Linked DNA regions of Homo sapiens: regions 1 and 2 are each linked to region 3. The links are contacts of gene promoters, found by promoter capture Hi-C in blood cells and fetal thymus (Javierre and others, 2016). All regions are on one chromosome and are shown on one strand. The core of a region is centred on a gene start or on the middle of the fragment in contact, and the rest is flanking DNA. Distances in the headings are between cores, read along the strand shown.

Evidence for each region. Contacts are between HindIII fragments. The CHiCAGO score rates a contact against its expected background, and 5 or more counts as called.
Region 1: a contact is called between a fragment that was not itself captured here and the fragment with the promoter of UTP3 in region 3, in 1 of 17 cell types (monocytes). The highest score is 5.6, in monocytes.
Region 2: a fragment that was not itself captured here is called in contact with the fragment with the promoter of UTP3 in region 3 in 1 of 17 cell types (monocytes); the score reaches 7.2 in monocytes.

The regions. Positions count from the first base shown.
Region 1 is chr4:69,753,006-69,757,251 of GRCh38, forward strand. SULT1B1 (sulfotransferase family 1B member 1) reads right to left here. Exons shown (of 8, transcript NM_014465.4): 2 at 2,065-2,256; 3 at 1,665-1,793. The coding sequence starts at 2,212. Among named protein-coding and RNA genes, the nearest start is that of SULT1B1, 5.5 kb to the right of the region's middle. The HindIII fragment of the contact is 1,887 bases long and covers 1,082-2,968 here.
Region 2 is chr4:71,255,663-71,259,984 of GRCh38, forward strand. The region is part of intron 3 of SLC4A4 (solute carrier family 4 member 4); the gene reads left to right. Among named protein-coding and RNA genes, the nearest start is that of SLC4A4, 71 kb to the left of the region's middle. The HindIII fragment of the contact is 4,088 bases long and covers 853-4,322 here.
Region 3 is chr4:70,686,045-70,690,256 of GRCh38, forward strand. UTP3 (UTP3 small subunit processome component) reads left to right here and starts at 2,488. Exons shown (of 1, transcript NM_020368.3): 1 at 2,488-4,212. The coding sequence starts at 2,634. The coding sequence ends at 4,073. LOC101927297 (a long non-coding RNA gene) reads left to right here. Exons shown (of 4, transcript XR_938860.3): 4 at 563-772. RefSeq lists enhancers at 1,413-2,383, 1,764-1,853, 2,384-3,352, 2,554-2,613. The HindIII fragment of the contact is 6,672 bases long and covers 1-4,062 here.

The DNA.
Region 1 (4,246 bases), core at 775-3,274, 930 kb before region 3:
TCTCTTCTCATATAGCTCCACAGGCTTTCCTTGGGCAGTCACATTGATTCCAATGTCCAATTATGCTGAGCATTGCCTAATGAATATATTTTTACAAGCTCCAAATACCATCATTTTAATTCATTATAATTTTCTCCAATGTCACAAAGCTAACATTTCACAATTGAATTATTAATAACCCTACACCCAAATGTGTTCCTCTCCAAGTACTTTTCCTTGCAAGCGAATGGTTCCATAGTCCACTTGCTTGATGAAAAATAAAACTGTCATTTTTCTTTCATTTTCTTCATATTTCTTTTACAGTCCATCAACAAGTCACAAATATGTCTTATCTAGCATCCTCAATTCCACCTCTACCAAGCAACCTGTGGAGTCTTTGTATTTAAAACAACAACAAAAAACAAAAACTCTATATAATTTTTCTTTGCATAAAACCCTTCAATATCTTCCTCAATGTTCTTGGAATAAAATGAGAAAATGTTTTAAGAATTACAAGTCCTACATGGTCTATCCTAGCCTAATTTCCAATTGTTTTGCATCCCACTTTTTCCTTCTTTCATGGATCATTTTAGTCTCCGGACTATATCAAGATCTTCCTGGAATATGCTTTCCAGGACTGTATCCTGGGATATTCTTTCCCCAAGTATGTACAACTTTTTAATCTCAATTTGGAGTAGATACCCCTTGTTAAATTAAGTTTAGACTAAAGCTGTCATCTTACACATTTTAAGTTTGGCTTAAAGGTTTCTCTATACATAGTGAATTGTAACCTAACTGGATGTGTAAACATATTACATTCTACCCTTGTGCGAATCACCAAGTTTTGGCCAATCAAAGGTGGCCAGCTCTTCAGACTGTGTTCAAATAAGTCAGACACTAAACTTTAACTAAACCAGCTGTTTCTATATCTCAAGTCTGTTCTCTGTATGTCACATTCCTTCCTTCCATAAACCATGTAGCTATTCTGGAATCTCTGAGGCTATTTTGGCTCAAGAGGCTGCCTGATTTGTGAATTGTCCTTTGCTCAATTAAACTCATTTAATTTGTCTAAGTTTTTTTCCTTTATTACCCACTTAAAGTAAGCTTTCCTATTGTTCGCTTCCACAGAACCCTATTATTTGACTATGTAAGACTATGAACATTGACATATTGTTATTTACTTTTTGACGTCACAATATTGCTGTAAGCTCCCTGTGATACAATATACAATTTCTAATCTTATATATCTATACCATAGCACAGTGAATAATTCTTTACAAGCATTCCATAAATATTTTGTGGAAGAAAAATTAATAGTATTAGTGAATTTTATGTTTTAAGAAAAGTTGCTTCTTATTTATTAATTACAACAAAGTCCTAAATTAGGAACTTACTAATCTAATCAGACAAATTCTACCAAATAAAAGTCTTAAAAATATTGTTTATTTTATCAATCAAATTTTTAATTGTTTTGTACAGTAAGACTCTTTCATCTTTGATATCATACCTGGATGTACAACAGATAAAAATAAAGTTTCTTCTTATTCTTCAGTTTTATATTGTTTGCCACCTTCCATTTTATGTCACCAAATCTACTCCGGTTTCAGTGAAAGTCACACATACAATAATGCATATGCTGTCTAAATAATATTACAAAATAATAATTCCAAGTGGGTTAAATTTACCTGATGTTCTTAATCCAGGGAGAGTCATTTCCAACATTGGAACTTTTTCAGTAATAAAACCTCGCTTACATTTTTCAATATCTCCATCATTTAGAATCATGTCTATAATTTCACTAACCCAAGTAGTACCTGTGACAAAAGGCAACATTTTCAAAATAATTACCCAAATTGCACGGGAGAGGGAGAAGAATTTATTGGAAACACTACCATCTTAACACATTCTATTACAAACTTAATTCCCCTTTCTATGCACCAAATGCCAATTTTAATATACTAAAATAGATGGCTGCACAAAATGAATATTAACTTTATTTAGAATGGTAATGATTTTATGGACAAGTTGATTTCCAGGAAACAAAAAATGAGGTCGGACTTGAATTTGTCAGGCCACAGAACTCACCTGATTTAGGATAAGTGGCTATCACAATGTCATCTGGTCTGCTATGGAACTGTTCAATTTTTTCCCAGTTGCTTGCAAAAGCACAGGTCATGGGATAACCATGGACCAACTTCAGATCTTTTCGCAGAATATCTTTTGGGGAAAGCATTTTAATACCAGATTGTACAAATATATAATAGATTGACAGTTGTTCTGGAGAAATATAGAGAATAAAAATCAGAATCTGAGTAACTAATGTTGGTCTTAAGACACTGCAATTTGTCACAAAGTAAAATTGGCCTTTAACATTCTGCGCACATGGAGATCTAAGTACAAAGGGCATATTTTGTGGGCATTAGGTGCAGTAGATTGCAAGAGCAGTAACTGGCTCTGTGACAAGCAGGACAAAGGTCTCTAGTGGAAGTTTTGGAAAGAAATGAAACTGCATATCTCTCTTTGAATTAAAAAGCGTGTTTCACAGAAATATGGCAAAAACAATCTGAACAATCTGACTTAAGGCAAAATAAATCCACTGCTCATTATTAAGACTTCAGCTACACGTCATTTTTCCTTACAGAAAATTTGCTGTCATTCTGACCTTTGATTTTCAGTTTGTAATTCATCCTTTTTCTTTGTGTGCTTCTAAGGTTTCTTTCTTTATCACTTATTTTGAGCAAGTAGATTATAATGTTCCTAGGTGTGGTTATTTTCATGTGTGTGTGTGTGCACGCGCGTATACATTTTAGCTTTATTGAGCTTCTTGAAATTGTGAGTTTACGGTTTCCATCAAATTTGGATAATTTTCAGCCATTATTTCTTCAAATATTTTTTCCATCTCTCTCTCCTTCTGAGACTATAATTACATGTATATTAGGCCATATGAAGTTGCCCACAGCTGAGAGATTATCTATTTAGTTTTTTAAAAAGCTTTTCTCTGTGTGTGTTTCATTTGGGATATTCTCTATTGCTATGTCTTTGTAATTACTAACCTTTTCTTCTGCAATGTTTAATCTGTCTTTACTCCTATCCAGTGTATTTTTATCTCTGGCTTTGTAGTTTTAATCTCTGGCTGTTCAATTTCAATATGTTTATTTTTTTGTTCTCAACTTTTTAAGCATACTAAGTACGGTTATAATGATTTTTTTCTTTGTTTAACATCTGGGTAATTCTATGTTGTTTTCAATTGATTGATTTTTTTCTCATTATGGTAGGCTTTTTCTCCTTGTTTACATGTCTGATAATTTTTTATTGGATGCTTGGTGTTCCTGTTAACTTCTTCTTGATTAGAAGCTGTCATTGATAATTTTTTGTGTCAACCTGACTGTGCCAAGGAGTCCCCAGACATTTGGCCAAACACTACTCAGAGTGTTTCTGTATTGGTGTTTTAGGACTAGATTAATATTTAAATTGGTAGACTGAGTGATTGTCCTGCCTAAGTGGGTGATCTTCAGCCAATTAGTTGAAGTCTGAGTAGAACAAAAAGGGTGATGCTCCTAGGAGTATTCCTTCTACCTAATTGCCTTTGAGCTTTAATCAAAACATCGTTGTTTTTTGTTTGTTTCTTTATTCCTGCCTGCAGACTCAAACTGAAGCATTGCTCTTCCTGGATCTCCAGCCTGCCAGCCTTTTGACTAGAGCTAAACCATCAGCTCTACTGGGTCTCCAGTTTTCCAGGTCACCCTACATATCCTGGAATATGCCTGCATACCTGCCTCTAAAATAATGTCATATATGTATGTGTTCAAAGGCAGTCAGACAGGAAGAATTCCTCTTTACTTCCAGGAGAGTCACCCTTTTGGTTCTATTCAGGCCTTCAACTGATTGCGTGAGTCCCATTCACATTAGGGAAGGCAATCTGCTGTACTCAATCTGCCAATTTAAATTTTAATCTCATCTGAAAACACCCTCACAGACACACACACACACACACAGACACACACACACACACACAAAGTAATTTTTCATCAGACATCTGGGTTTCCTGTGGCCCCATCAATTGGACACATAAAATTGGCATCACAAAGAGCTACTTATTATTTATTTTTTCCACTATTTCCACTGAACTTTGTAAGTAAAACCATAGCCTTGCTTTTAATAATGTTTTTTCATTTTACATCAACTTTATTTATTTTACAATTTATAGATTCCTTCATAATCGATGTTCCATTTATTTCTTAAGATCTGTTAATTTAATAACATATAA
Region 2 (4,322 bases), core at 1,647-4,146, 570 kb after region 3:
ATAGGGTAGTATTGCAGATGGTATTTAACTACAGCAATAAACAGTAACTGGAAGACTCTTAAAGAATTTTTTGCATGGTTTATGCTTAGAAATAGGTTCTGTTGAGACAGCAGGTGAAGATGAGAGTGTATGTCTATATATTTACATATCTTACCAAATGTCAGCATTACAGGTGACATAAAACCAGGTTATGAGTCAGGTCAGTGATTTAAATAGGAATTGTGGAAAATCATCCTGTAAGAGAGATCTGTAGAGTGACACAGTTGTTAAGATGTTGAATGTATTAGATGTCATACACTGGATAAAAGTGTTACTAAGAGCAGAATAGCAGGAGGTCAAAGAACACCCTTGAATTCAAGTGATAGGATAGGCTGTGTGTTTAGATGTATGTTTATGTTGCTTTTTGTTTCTTTAATGTGGAGAATATTTGGCTACATGGGCCAAATATTGTGGCTGAACTGAGAATGAATATGTGCAGTAGAAACACATGCCAATTTTGGAAGATTCCCCAACAGGAGTTACACAGTGACAGCTTTTCATGTTGGCAGAGCTCTGTACATTCTTCATGTCTTTGCTACAGTTGCAGAAATATGGACCCTGCAATAAAATGCATTATGGATGGCACAGATAAAGATCGGGTTCAGTCATTGCAGTTGATGACAGGCCAAATTAGAATGAACAGCTCAAGGGTGTTGAAAAGTGAATTTACAGAGTTAAATTAAAGAGGGTGTGAGGCATAGTGATGTGAATTTTTTATAGTCTCACCGTTGGAACTGAGCAGGTGGCTTAGGAAGCTAGAGAAGTGCGGTGCTAAGAGGAGAAATACAGGTGGACCATCGAATTAAAGACAGAAGCTTGGAGGGGAGCTTGAGATGGATCATGAAATCTAAATTAAAAGCATTGAAATAAATTTAAGACTTAGAAGGACCAGAAGGCAGGAGACTCAAGTTATGTACTTTTCACTGAAGTACTGGGGGAAGGTCTGTCTGAAAGGGATCCTTTACATATCGATTAAGGTAGTGGAGTCTGTTTTGAGAAAAGGCCTTAAAATGCACATAAACATGGCACAGTTAATAGTCTGGAGGAACAAAAGATAACATTCTTTTCCAAATAAATGACTACCATTTATCTTGATTTACTCTGTATCCATCTGTCAAGGCCTGAGCCAGTGTCAAGTGTTCTGTCCATTGTGCATGTGATTGTCTACTCTCTCTCTTTCTCTCCTCTCTGTGTCTTTTATAACTTGTCTTTCATTCTTCAGATTAGAACAAGAGTGCATCATCACTATTAATGTTAAAAAGTAAAGAGGTGCTCACCTAGACAAATAGGCCCAGGAATTTTGAGATTAAAATTATATATCAGCTTTTGAGAAGGGCAGTGGAAACAGTGCCAGCAGCACTCAGATAGGTCATAAGGAATGAACAGATCAGGAAGATGCTGAGACCGCATGTGTATCAACCATAGAATACTGTTGCATTCTGTGGCATTTGGGGACCAGTTTGAATACAGCATTTAAAATAAACAAGGCAATCCATTCTCTTTCCCCTCAGAGGTTTCTTCCTGGGGGAATACTGCATTATGTTGTATACTGGTTTTCTGAAGGGATCCTATGGAGAGACAGTTGTTAAGGACTAAATTGTTCAGTGATCATAAAAAAATTATTTATAAGTATGCATTTTACCGTTTTGTTCCTGCTGATCAATGTTATACACTAATATGCCTTTGGCATATTTGATATGAGTTATCCAATTTGACATGAAGATTCTCTTAGAAATTGCTGTATATCCTCAGCTGCTTTGATGGATTGGTAGTTAATTATTTGGTACAGTTCTGTTTAAAAGTCAGAGTTTTTGCACCTAGATATAGAAAGACATTTAACCCCATGATTTTGGGGGAAGCCATAGGGCTCTGGCACCAACATGATGACAAAATTGTTGTGGGAAAACTGAATGAAATACTTGCCTACTATACTATTATTGTCTCTCAAGAACAGCCACATAACAGTTTCTGTTGTTCTGTGACCTATGGTGTTTGAGTTGCTTATGTCCATAGACATACCACGTCCCATAGACAAGGTTCCCACATGTGTCTGGCAGTGCGCGATGTGATGCTTATACTTCTGAGAAAAACAAAAACCAAAAAGCCCACATATAAATAGTAACTTGATGGGAGTCATCTTTGATTCTTTCCTTGCTCTCACCCTCATATGCAATCCTTCAATGATTTCTGTTGGTTCAACATTTAAAATAGATCTGAATTTTTCTGTTCTTTTCAGTTTTGCGGTCACATTTTTGTCCAGGGAATCATCACCTCTTGCATAGACACTGCAGCAGTCTCTGCTTTTTAAGTATTTCTTCATAGAGAGGCACCATTGATCATCATAAAGTGTAAATTGGATCATGTCCTTCCTCTGCTGAAAACTTCCCATTGTCCTAAGAATAAAACCTCAATTGGGCATCATGGCCCAGTGTCTTTCTAGTCCTGTGATGTGCCATTCTCTCCTTGCTCACTTTACTCCAGATACATTGATATTGGAGTTCCTTGGTGCTAAAACCTTTTCTGCCTCAGGGCCTTTGTTCATGCAAACTTGTCTTCCTGAAATGGTCAGCCCATTCTTGTCCTGGTTAGTTTTTCTGTTCCTGTATGTTCTGGCTTTTAAATTTTACCTCTTCAGAGAGTCCTTTCCTTACTACTCTCTCTAGTGCAGATTCCCCTTCATTATTCTTTCCCAACGCCTTATGTTTCCTTCAGAATATATGTTTTAACATGTGATTTTTGAGAGCTTACAGGTTTGTCTTGAGCTGTTGCTGGATTGTAAACTCCGTGAGAGCAAAGATCAGGTTGTCTTGTTCACTTTGTTATCTTTGGCGCCGCACAATGCCTGGCACATAGTGTGTTTTTCATACGTGTTTATTGAGGAGTAACTGAATGAATGAATTACTACAGAGAAAGACGTAAGCATTGCTTTAATTGGTCTAAATATTTCTTATATCCTAGATAGAGATCCAGCTGATTTTCTTGTTTTTAAGCCTGGAACATCGTATTTATATTTCCCTGCCCTGCCTTTCTCCCTTGGCACATAAAATCTGGTCTTCGCTTTTAATTATCCCACTTTGGAAAGTGCCTCATTATTTTGTCTATCGCCAAAGTGGGATTTTGGTCTGGGTAGGTAACTCCCAAGTGTGTGCAGCTGCTTGTTAACCACAGGTGAGGGATGAAACTGAACCGCAAGGCACATTAATTTTTTATATACACTTAAAAATGCTCACTGTTCCACAGAGCAGGCAGCCCCCCTTCAGAAGCCATATTAAGGTGACATGAGCTGGCACCGTGGCACATGCCTATAGTCCCAGGTGCTCCAGAGGCTGAGGTGGGAGGATCATCAGAGCCCAGGAGTTTGAAGCTGTAGTGCTCTATGATTGCCCCTGTGAATAGCTGCTGTGCTTCATCCGTGGCAATATAGTGAGACCCTGTCTCTACAAAAACATGAAAGGGCATTTATAAGAAGTAAACGAAATATCTTCCAGTATTTAGGCACATTAAGGAGATGGCATAATTAACAGGTTCATTTAGTTTATAACCTAACGCTTTCTATTTTCTTCATGGCTTTGGTGTCAAGACCGGGTTTCTAAAAAATAAATGAGTGTTTGATTTTTACACATTTGGAGCTCTGAGGAGGAAGCGAGCTAGCTTCGTATCCCCCTCTGAGCTCAGCAGCAGCTCCAAGTCCTTTCACAGCTGCTATTCCCAGTGTGGCGTCAGAGCTGGTGTCCCAGCTGGGGACACAGAGAAGGAAACGTGTGTGAGAGCGTGGTGCACTGAGCCATGGGGAGAGAGAAGCTGGGGAAGGAAAGTGAAATGGAAGAACAAGCAGGAGAGACAAGGGAATGAGGAGGTGGTGTGGAGTGGGTGGTTGAGAGAAAAGTTAGATTGTGCTCTTTCTTAAAAATAATCCTTTTGCCTCCTCCACTGTGCATTTTTTTTTTCTAAGTTAGCAGCTGCCATCCTCTGAGGGTTGCCCAAAAAGTGGGTGGGAAGGTGGTCCTGGCTGAGATAGGCTTTGGAAACACAGCATACCTTCCCAGCCTACATGGTTTTGGCCTCTGTGCCTCCCATTTTGTTAGTGTCCAGGGATACTTATGGGGGCATCACAGGCTACTTTGTGACTGTAGAGATCCTGAAGATGTGTAAGATGGTAGGAAACAAAGCTACAAACAGAACATCGTGTTCAGCATTTTGATCTGATGTGTAAGATATTTCTTGACAAGCATGAACATGCATTCATGCTTGGAGGTGCTAACTGCCTCTCACACACAGGTCTT
Region 3 (4,212 bases), core at 1,238-3,737:
GTGGGAGGCTGAGGCAGGAGAATCAATTGTTCTTTATCAAAAGGATCTGAAAAACTGGGTGAAGCGGCACGCACCTTTAGTCCCAGCTACTCAGGAGGCTGAGGCAGGAGATCACTTAAGCCCAGGAGTTCTACCCAGCCTGGGGAACACAGCAGGCACCTGTCTCTAAAAACAAAGGATCTGAGAATGTTAGAATACGATACTCTCTGAATATGCATTGAATACTGCAACTCTGTTCTGGTTAGGAAATTTAACATTTAGTATAAACTAAATAATATTAATGTGATCATTCCCATTTAAAATATCCAAAATATTTTTCTAACTTATATATAATAGTATATGCATTTTAGTCTTGAAGTCTGACACTAAATTCTCAAATAATTTGCAATAAAAATGAAAAATTTTTATTTATGTGCCTAAATGCAACAGTGTTTAAATAATGAAAATTTAACATTTAAAGTAAGGAAATAACTACAATTCCAGCATAGATGTCATATTCTTTAAGCAATATTCCCAAAACAGCAATCTAAAGGTTATCTCTTATCCTTCTGTTCTCTTACAGCACCGGGTTTACATCATACACTGCCTTGTATTCCAGTAATCTGTATGAGTGTCTTCTTTTCTACCTGATTATACAGTCCTTAACTGGCTGATTCATCACTATTGTCTGTAGCATTCTACAACAAACAGTAAGCAGTTAATATCTGCTAAATGACAAAATGTACTAAAATTTACATTAAAAAATAAATTCATGCTTACCATCAGAACATAACTTTTGCCCACAACTTTCTAATTTAATTTTATTTTCTAAAATCTTGTAAAAATTTCAAAATGTTTCGGACACCTTTAGGCACTTGGAAAATGTTTATTTCAAAGTATCACTTTTCTAACATTTTGCATTATTTTTATTAACCTAATGACACTATACTTTCTGAAAAGAAATTGTCACCATTGGCTGGGCGCGGTGACTCACGCCTGTAATCAATCCCAGCACTTTGGGAGGCCGAGGCGGGCGTATCACGAGGTCAGGAGATGGAGACCATCCTGGCCAACATGATGAAACCCCGTCTCTACTAAAAATACAAAAATTAGCTGGGAGTGGTGGCGCGTGCCTGTAATGCCAGCTACTCGGGAGGCTGAGGGAGGAGAATCACTTGAACCAGGGGGTCGGAGGTTGCAGTGGGCCGAGATTGCCACTGCACTCCAGCCTGGCAACAGAGCGAGCCTCCGTCTCAAAAAAAAAAAAAGAAAAAAAGAAAAAGAAAAAAGAAACAAAAAACAAAAGAAAAAGAAATTGTCACCATTAATTTTATTTTATTTATTTATTTATTTATTTTGAGACAGAGTCTCTGTCTGTCGCCCAGGCTAGAGTGCAGTGGTGCGATATCGGCTTACTGCCACCTCCGCCTCCCGGGTTCAAGTGATTCTCCTGCCTCAACCTCCCGAGTAGCTGGGATTACAGGTACCCGCCACCACGCCCCGCTAATTTTTTGTATTTGTAGTAGAGACTGGGTTTCCCCATGTTGGCCAGGCTGGTTTTGCACTCCTGACCTCAAGTGATCCACCCACTTCGGCCTCCCAAAGTGCTTAGGATTATGGGCATGAGCCACCGCGCCCAGCCATGTCACCATTAATTTTAGCAACGTATCAAAAGTTCAGCTTCCAACTACCTACATTAAAAGGTATAATAATACTAACCCTGAACCTTACATATGTAATGCCTAAAAACTTACACCCTGAATTACTCTAACATTACAGGGCAGACTTCCTTGAGAAGAGTCAGACCCTGCAGCGGGGCTCTGCCTTCCCACTGTCAGCCTCGGGGTCATCTAGCTTTATCGATCCCCATGGAGCGGGTCACCGAGCCCTGTGAGCAGGGAGAGGGCGATGGGGATGAGTAAACCCGAGCCGGAGGCCCGGCCTGCGCTCTCGCCCGGAAACCTCCCGTGGGATTCTGGAGTCCAGCGGCGCTGCCTGAGGCTGTGGTACCCAGAAATATGGTATTGGGGGTGGGGGTGAAATGAGAGGAAAGCAATCTGATTAACTTCCAGCCTGATAAGCAGAAAAGAGAAAACAAGGGAGCAGGAAAACTACGCTAGCACTAGACTGCCGGTCGCAAGCGCCGGGTACACACGCAGTTAAACCTCAATGGAACGCCCCCGGGACTTCTCCGGGGCGTAAAGCGCAGCGCCCTCTATTGGCCATCGGGACCTCGCCTGGAGGTGCCGTCAGGATTCCGTCCCCCAGCCACTCCCAGGCACTCGAGAGTAAGCGCATTAGCCCGAGAAAGCGTTCTGTGGAACGGAACTTCCTTATCCTATCGTTTCCACACGGAAAGATTTTAATTCACCGGAATCGACTGGCGTTAAAGGGCACAGTGAAAAGGAAGTTGGTATCAACGTGATCTCGACTAAGGGACCGAGCGGAAGTCCTCAATCGTACGCCACGCGGAGAGCATGCTGGGGGCCGGAAGGAAGAGGAAATTCCAGTAGCCGATCAGGAGTCTGCAAACTCCGGTGGTAGGGGAGCGCGCTGCTGTTTAGAGCCACGAGTTACCGGAGCGCCTGATTCCTGCGCCGAAGTCAGTGGTGGCCGAAAGTCCGGAGTCGCTGTAAAACCTGAGATTGTGAGCCATGGTGGGGAGATCCCGGCGGCGCGGAGCAGCTAAGTGGGCAGCTGTGCGAGCCAAGGCAGGTCCCACGCTCACCGACGAAAATGGAGATGATTTAGGATTGCCACCCTCACCAGGGGACACCAGCTACTACCAAGATCAGGTAGATGACTTTCATGAGGCACGATCCCGGGCCGCCTTAGCTAAGGGCTGGAATGAAGTACAGAGTGGAGACGAGGAGGATGGCGAGGAGGAGGAGGAGGAGGTGCTAGCCCTAGATATGGACGATGAGGACGACGAAGATGGAGGGAATGCGGGGGAGGAGGAGGAGGAGGAGAATGCCGATGATGATGGTGGGAGCTCCGTGCAAAGTGAAGCTGAGGCCTCTGTGGATCCCAGTTTGTCGTGGGGTCAGAGGAAAAAACTTTACTATGACACGGACTATGGTTCCAAGTCCCGAGGCCGGCAGAGTCAACAGGAGGCAGAGGAGGAGGAAAGAGAGGAGGAGGAGGAGGCACAGATCATTCAGCGGCGCCTAGCCCAAGCGCTGCAAGAGGATGATTTTGGTGTCGCCTGGGTTGAGGCCTTTGCAAAACCAGTGCCTCAGGTAGATGAGGCTGAGACACGGGTCGTGAAGGATTTGGCTAAAGTTTCAGTGAAAGAGAAGCTGAAAATGTTGCGAAAGGAATCACCAGAACTCTTGGAGCTGATAGAAGACCTGAAAGTCAAGTTGACAGAGGTTAAGGATGAGCTGGAGCCATTGTTAGAGTTGGTGGAACAAGGGATCATTCCACCCGGAAAAGGAAGCCAATACTTGAGGACCAAGTACAACCTCTACTTGAATTATTGCTCGAACATCAGTTTTTATTTGATCCTGAAAGCTAGGAGAGTCCCAGCACATGGACATCCTGTCATAGAAAGGCTTGTTACCTACCGAAATTTGATCAACAAGCTGTCCGTTGTGGATCAGAAGCTGTCCTCAGAAATTCGTCATCTGTTGACACTTAAGGATGATGCTGTAAAGAAAGAACTGATTCCAAAAGCAAAATCCACCAAGCCCAAACCAAAGTCTGTTTCAAAGACTTCTGCTGCTGCCTGTGCTGTTACAGATCTTTCTGATGATTCTGATTTTGATGAAAAAGCAAAACTGAAGTACTATAAAGAAATAGAAGACAGGCAAAAGCTAAAGAGAAAGAAAGAAGAAAATAGCACTGAAGAACAGGCTCTTGAAGATCAAAATGCAAAGAGAGCTATTACCTATCAAATTGCTAAAAATAGGGGACTTACTCCTAGGAGAAAGAAGATTGATCGCAATCCCAGAGTGAAACACAGAGAGAAGTTCAGAAGAGCCAAAATTAGAAGAAGAGGCCAGGTTCGTGAAGTTCGTAAAGAAGAGCAACGTTATAGTGGTGAATTATCTGGCATTCGTGCAGGAGTTAAAAAGAGCATTAAGCTTAAATGAAGTTTTTGCTTAGCATAAGGTTTTTGGCAGTTTTGGATCAATAAATTTTTACTTTTAACTAAAGTCATTGTATTAATATATAATACTTTAAATTTTAAAAATTCTTGTCCACAAGGAAATTTGTCTGGGTTATTGGACA